2 separate regions of the Homo sapiens genome follow, and region 1 is linked to region 2. Evidence: promoter capture Hi-C in 16 types of primary human blood cells and fetal thymus (Javierre and others, 2016). All regions are on one chromosome and are shown on one strand. Each heading gives the region's core, a stretch centred on a gene start or on the middle of the fragment in contact. The rest is flanking DNA. Distances are from core to core; before and after follow the strand shown. Region 1 overlaps GLUD1 (glutamate dehydrogenase 1). Region 2 holds the start of ADIRF (adipogenesis regulatory factor).

Evidence for each region. The method cuts DNA at HindIII sites, captures the fragments that hold promoters and counts their contacts. A CHiCAGO score of 5 or more calls a contact.
Region 1: a contact is called between a fragment that was not itself captured here and the fragment with the promoter of ADIRF in region 2, in 1 of 17 cell types (M2 macrophages). The highest score is 6.9, in M2 macrophages.

Annotation. Positions count from the first base shown.
Region 1 is chr10:87,058,082-87,061,671 of GRCh38, reverse strand. It overlaps GLUD1 (glutamate dehydrogenase 1), which reads left to right. Exons shown (of 13, transcript NM_005271.5): 7 at 620-757; 8 at 847-984; 9 at 1,431-1,511; 10 at 2,399-2,522. Among named protein-coding and RNA genes, the nearest start is that of GLUD1, 35 kb to the left of the region's middle. The HindIII fragment of the contact is 5,304 bases long and covers 1-3,590 here.
Region 2 is chr10:86,966,913-86,970,455 of GRCh38, reverse strand. ADIRF (adipogenesis regulatory factor) reads right to left here and starts at 1,974. Exons shown (of 3, transcript NM_006829.3): 1 at 1,851-1,974; 2 at 194-256. The coding sequence starts at 1,911. It overlaps ADIRF-AS1 (ADIRF antisense RNA 1), which reads left to right. Exons shown (of 2, transcript NR_170185.1): 1 at 1-1,414. It overlaps AGAP11 (ArfGAP with GTPase domain, ankyrin repeat and PH domain 11), which reads right to left and starts at 120. Exons shown (of 11, transcript NR_171046.1): 1 at 1-120. RefSeq lists enhancers at 1-274, 275-1,028, 2,535-3,287, 3,268-3,447, 3,288-3,543 and a silencer at 870-1,164. The HindIII fragment of the contact is 3,661 bases long and covers 1-2,828 here.

The DNA.
Region 1 (3,590 bases), core at 359-2,858, 92 kb before region 2:
GCACTCCAGCCTGTGTGAGAGAATGAGACTCGGTCTCAAAAAAAAAAAAAAATTGTATTTCTCCAAATTAGTGACATCCCTTTTCACAACATAGGACATCTGATCATCAAGGACTGAGGACCTGGTGGTGTACTTAACACCACTGCCATTTATTGATTGATTGAGATGGAGTCTCACCCTATTGCCCAGGCTGGAGTGCAGTCTCGGCTCACTGCAACCTCCACCTCCCAGGTTCAAGTGATTCTCCTACCTCATTCTCCCAAGTAGCTGGGATTACAGGCACGGACCCCATGCCTAATTTTTGTATTTTTAGTAGAGACGGGGTTTCACCATGTTGGCCATGGCTGATCTCGAACTCCTGACCTCAAGTGATCCACCTGCCTCAGCCTCCCAAAGTGCTGGAATTACAAGCGTGAGCCACCATGCCCGCTCATCACATTCTTAAACAGAGAATTTTATTGTTGAAGAGAAACCAGTTAGTACATTGTTTCTTTTGGCAAAAGAATTTTGAGAATTGCTTCTAAATAAACAGAGTATGGATTTACATTGGTCAAAATATGACTCTTGCTGTCTATACCAGGACTTTAATTTTTGTGTTATGGGTAATTGTTCTTCACAGGGATTTGGTAATGTGGGCCTACACTCTATGAGATATTTACATCGTTTTGGTGCTAAATGTATTGCTGTTGGTGAGTCTGATGGGAGTATATGGAATCCAGATGGTATTGACCCAAAGGAACTGGAAGACTTCAAATTGGTATTAATACATTTTTATAGCATAGACACTAAATATAAATATTTAAAACTCTGGTGCAGCTATTAATTGTGATTTTCAATCAATGGCAGCAACATGGGTCCATTCTGGGCTTCCCCAAGGCAAAGCCCTATGAAGGAAGCATCTTGGAGGCCGACTGTGACATACTGATCCCAGCTGCCAGTGAGAAGCAGTTGACCAAATCCAACGCACCCAGAGTCAAAGCCAAGGTGACAACATTATAGAAACCAGAACCAACATTATCAATGTGAATGACGTTAGGGGGGTCATAGAAGAGTCTGATTGAGTTTTCTCTTTCTTTTTAGCAGCTTTATTGGCACATACTGCACATACCATACAGTTCCCCCATTTAAGGTACATAATTTAATGGCTTTTAGCTACCGGCACAGAGTTGTGCAACCATTACCAAAACAAACGCATCTGCCTGACACTCCTGTAAAAAAAAAAAACAAGCAAACAAAAAAAAAACCTAGATAAATAGAAAAGTGAAAGGTAGTTTTATACACTTGGCAGAGAAAAATAACCTCTATTTAACTTTAACTGAAACTGTGCTTCTCCCCACAGCCCCTTGTTCATATATGCACATCTCTTGCCCTCAGTGGAGGGGATTTGACGGTGGTGTTCGCATTTCTCTATGTTCCTGACTCTCTTGCAGATCATTGCTGAAGGTGCCAATGGGCCAACAACTCCAGAAGCTGACAAGATCTTCCTGGAGAGAAACATTATGGTTATTCCAGTAAGTCATCTATATTTATTAGGCTTTATATGTACTTAGAATCATAATAGTCTTTTGCAAGGAATTTGGAGGAAGAGAGGAATTATTAGTCTCCAAGCTCTAGTGAATTCATCTTTTTCACTTTTGAGAAAATATAGTAGAAGCATGGTTAATTCTAAGCCTGTTAATTTTCACTTTGATCGAAACATTTATTCCAATTTCAGGCTCTTTACTGAATGTCTTTAGCCTTCTAAGAGTCTGGTTATATAAATGTGTACTGTGTTAGAAACACTATTCTAACTAAAGCTCTTAAGATTTTCTATATGATTCCTAACCTTATGCATTTCAAGTGCCCTTTCCAGCTTTACTCAGAAAACTAATATGAGGAACACGTGCTCAGGTTTTTTAGCAAGTAAAAATGAGTCTACACCAAAAAGTTACTAGAAATTAATGTGGGCTTGGAATATATTTTAAAGAACCCCCTTTGCTGAAAGCACTTAAGACATTTAATGTAACTGAAATGGGCTACCCTTAGGTAATAGGAGAAAGAATCCTGTCTTCTGAGAGGCCCTGTGGACAGTCCAGTCCAACTGGTTGGTGGGCAAGCCATTTAGTCTGAGAACTAACTTCTGGTAGAGAAGAGGCTCCAACCAAAGATTATTAACTTTCCTTGATTAATAAGCCAAAAAATGATTTTTTTTTTTTCCTAAATAGAAAAAGCCTTAGATGGAATTGGGTGGGATGGGAAGGAGTGTTAATTAAGTGTGAAATTCCTGATACTGGCTAAAATATATTTGCGATATTTAAAGTCCAGTCTACCTTGGTATTGAAATTAAGGTCTTAGGTTCATTTTCAGCTTTTACGAAAACCATCATCTTCTAATTTCTTTGTCTTATTTTTGTGCATAGGATCTCTACTTGAATGCTGGAGGAGTGACAGTATCTTACTTTGAGTGGCTGAAGAATCTAAATCATGTCAGCTATGGCCGTTTGACCTTCAAATATGAAAGGGATTCTAACTACCACTTGCTCAGTGAGTATCGATAATCTTGTTCGCCAAAACTCATCTTTTGAGCCAGCTGAAAGGCTGTAAAAAGGTCCACTTAAGAGAACTGATCCCTTTGGGAAAGAATTGAGTCTCAGAAAAGAAAATAATATTTTGTCTCATGAAACTTAGACCAAAAATGCACAATGTCTTTCTGGATATTAACTCTCCCATATATTATATCCAGAGTTTTATTCTGTGATGTAATATTCACAGAATATAATCTACATTTTTTTTTTCTTTTTTTGAGAGGGAGTCTCGCTCCGTCGCCGAGGCTGGAGTGCAGTGGCACGAACTCGGCTTACTGTAGCCTCCGCCTCCCAGGTTCAAGCAATTCTCCTGCCTCACCCTCCCAAGTAGCTGGGGCTACAGGCACTCACCGCCACGCCCGGCTAATTTTTGTATTTTTAATAGAGACGGGGTTTCACCATGTTGGCCAGGATAGCCTTGATCTCCTGACCTCATGATCCGCCTGCCTCAGCCTCCCAAAGTGCTGGGATTACAGGCGTGAGCCACTGTGCCCAGCCAATAATATTTTTTTAAGTGTGATTTTAAAACTCCACTGTCGATACTAATTTCTGTCTCTGGTTGCTCTTAGTAAAGGCCTATCTAGTGTCAAGAATTGTTTTTGAGACTCCTGATGAGAATACTTGTTTTTCTTTGACTAGAGTAAGCTCCACAGTTAAGAGTAGAATTTCTCATCTAGTTGAAATAAGACCAAGACCTCCTACTGAGCTTCTGTACTCAGCCCACTGTGAGAATCTGGGTGAAGTGTTCCATCTATTTCCTTTTCTTTTTCCCCCAGCGTTTTCTTTTTAATAGAGCCAAGGAAAAACCCTGGTAATGGGTGTTATGGAAACAGAGCAGTGACCTAAATTCACATTTATATAGGAAATTGGCAATGTGTTTTATTCCTTCCTGACTGAGTTTTAAATGATTAACCCTTTTATGTCATTAAAACTCTGTATAAGGCCAGGCGCAGTGGCTCACGCCTGTAATCCCAGCACTTTGGGAGGCCAAGGCAGATGAATCACGAGGTCAGGAGGTCGAGACCAT
Region 2 (3,543 bases), core at 725-3,224:
GGGCAGGTCAGGCAGGGCCCGGGAACCACAGTGCCTGTAGGCTTAGCCTGGCCTGGGTCTCCCGGGGGACCTGCTTGGGGCATTGTGGACAGAGGGCTCTGCAGAGGAGAGGATGTGCCTGGGCCCCAGCCGGGATGGGGCGGGGAGTGGGAGGTGTGCTGGGGTTGCCCGCCTCCCTCCAGCCCCACCAGACCTTTCTGCCCCGCCTCTGTGGCCTGGTCCACCACTTGCTGAGCTGCCGCTCCGGCCGCTGACACTGGAACAGAGAGATGTGGCTTTTAGCCCCTGTTGAGGCACCACCGACTACAGGTGCCCCACCATTGCCATGCCTCTGTGTCCTCCAGAGTATTCGGTGGTACAGGTCCAAGGGATGGATGCCATGGAGATAAAGTCCCTGGCCCAGGGCCCCCCAGCCCGAGGGGCAGGAGACCTTTCCATGCCTCTGGGATGTTTTTGTTTATTTCTAACTCTGAGCTCCTTCTCTGTGGGGGAGGAGCTTCCCTTTCCATCTCCAGGGCTACTGAGAAAATGTTGGACAGAGGAAGGAAGGCAGGGCAGGGCCAGGCTGCAGCTAGCATCTGGACTGTTGGCTAATGCTGGTGATGGCGCAGAAGACCCTTGCCCCCTTTTACAGCTTCTCCCCTAGAAGCCTGGCCCAGATGCCTGAATTCCCACCTTTCATGCACTTAGCCCTGGGGCTTGCAGTTTTGCCAGGTCCTTACTGCCTCCTCCCTCCTGTGGCCTGCCCGGAGGGGCACACAAGCAAAGCCAGTGCCTCTGTGGACAGGCAGCTTAAGACATTAGGAGACAAATGAAGGAAGGAGGCAAAACTTCCAAGGCCGGACTATCTCCTCTGGACCAGAGTTTCGGCCTGCTGGGAATGGAGTCACCAGCCCCGGGGGGGCTGACAGGTGGCTCCCGCCTACAGAGCTGTAACTCATCCCTGCTGCTGAACAGGAAAGGGCCTGCCTTACCCAGATCCCATCCTCCGGAAAGGGTTAGTCAGGCAAGTGTGCTGAGAGGCCCCTGGGAACCTCGTCTCGATTAACCCATCAGAAAGCAGCCCATCCTTTGCACCCAGCTCTCAGATGGAAAAGTGAAGCCCAGAAGGAAGGGACCTGACACGGAGGCTTCCTTGGTAGCATTTCAGTCTCAAGGGAAGAACTGTGGGCCTCCCCTGGAGCACTGGTGAAGTAAGGGGTTGGTTTGGATATTGTCTCCTGACTGGGATATGGGCAGGACTGACAGGGAGCTGGAGTCCTAACGAAGCCTGGGCTAGGTGCAGGAAGAACCAACCCAGTGGTCTCCTGACATCTCCCACGCCCCCACCGCAGCTGGGTCACCTCCAGAATACGGAGGAGAGAGCTGGAGGTGGAGGAACTAAGGACCTTCTTTGCCAGGTGGGGACTTAAAGGTAAGGCGACGATTACTTTTCGGCGATGGGGGTGGGATGGAAACAAAGCCCTTTGAGGTCTGGGGCAGCCTCTGGTGGCGCGCGCGGGTTTAAGTGGTGGCGGGCCGCGCCCGATCCCTGTCCTGGACCTTCACCCTCTCCTGAGGGCCTGGGCGGGCCGCCCAGCGCCAGCATGGCCTCCTTGGAGGGGCTCCCGCAGTGCCCGCAGCGCAGCTCCGGCTCCTCCGGAGCCTCTGTTCCGCTGCCTCCCTGCGGGCACCATCTGTCTGCTCGCCGGGGTGGGCGTTCTGCCTGCCCCCTGCGTCTCAGTGGAGGACCGAGCCTTCCGAGCCAAGCTGCCGGTCCAGGAACTTGCGGACCGCGCCGACCCGCTGCTTCTGCCTGCGCATCCACGCAGGTGCCCCTGCCTGAGCCCTAGGTCGCGCGCTATCCTCACCGGCTTCCTGGGCGGTCCCCTCCACCTGTTGCTTCAGGTCCTGCAAGCCCTTGCTTGCCATGGCTTCGGGGTATCTGTGGAGTCGTCAAGAGCAGCTGGAGCGACGTTGGATCCTGCCCAGAGTGGCGATGCCAAGCGCCAGCTCCGGTTTTTAAGGCGCCCCAGGGCTGGCCTGCCCCGCGTAGGGGAGAGGGCGCGGGGCGGTTCCCGTCATACAGGCTCCGGGGAGTGGCCGGGCCCTGCTCCAGAGTCCGCAGGGCAGGGAGCACATCCTGGCCTAAGACGGGCCGCGGTGGGAAAGGGGCAGACCGAACCAGGGACCGAAGAGGTGCCAGGACAGGGGTCCAGAGAGGAGCTGGAGGCAGGAGAAGGGCGCACACCACCTCCCAGCTCATCAGCCCCAGCCCTCCCTTTCTGATCCTGGGCGTGAGCGCTGGGTCAGCTCCAGGGCAGGAGCTCAGGGCTGGTGTTGACCTTAATGACAGCAGTGGTCTTTTACTGAGCATTTGTCTTGTGCCAGGTGCTGCCTAACGCTCTGCAGTCTCTTGTATAATCTTTACAACCACCTCCTGAAGTGGGTATTTTTGTTGATAGCATCAGTGTATAGGAGGAAACTGAGGCAGTGAGGTCGGTCTCACCCAAACGCATGTGGCAGGGACTTGGATCCTCGAATCTGCCTAGGTGCCTGTAAACCCTAGGGCTCTGGCATCATCGGAGCCCCCAGCCCCAAACAGCTGCAGGGGCACTGCTGACTGGCTCTCTGCCTGTAGCCAGAGACCCAGTGGATGCAGCCGGAGAGGGCCTGGTAAATCTTTCCCCTGAGAGGGCGAGATACAGGTGTGTGCACTTGCAGACCATGCAACCCCAAGGGGGAGAGGGCAGTGTGCCTGTGCAGCCCAGGCAAGGAGATTGCCGTCTGTCACCGAAGCCTTAGGAAGTTGGGCAGGAAGCATGGCTCAGGGAGGGCAGGAATAAGCTTGGGCCTCTCAGGTCACCTTTCCTGAGATGGGGCAGGCAAGGCGCTAGAGAGTATGACTTGTGGCTGTTAGGAGGGGACTTAGGGACCTGGGCCTGAGTGGAGAAGATCATCCTTGGGTGCAGCAAAACAGCTTGCAAGATACATTCCCCTGGCACACAAGGGGTGTAGGTCAGGCCCCACCCAGCTGGGTATACTCCCACTCCAGAGTAGGCCTTCAGGACCTGGAGGCCAGTGCACACCCACCCTGCCTTTCTGGGTCTCTCTACCGCTTCCTGTCCGGGGCTGTTTCTTGCACCTCTGCTGGTGTCTCCCCTATTCTGGAGCGCTGGGAAGCCCCTGCCACACAGGCTTGGTCTGCTGGCACATACCCTGCTTCTAGTGCTGCGGGGTCAGCCCCTAGAGGGAGTTGTTTGGAAGTGCACCTGTACACACACACACACACACACACACACACACACACACACACACACACACACGGTATGGATTAATGGAGATGAGGTCAACCCTGGGCAAAGGGAAGAGGCAGGTGATGAGATTAGGTGGAGGAAGGGGGAGGGAGCAGGTCTCAGGCAAAACAAAGCGGCAGCAACAGTCCTCCCAGCCCCCCGCCCCTCCTCTCCCAGAGCGAGGCCTTGCCCTGGGAGCGGCCATATGGATGCCTTGGGGACTCTGGGGAGCCCATCTCAGCCATGCCCTGCCTGGCTGGCCACAGCC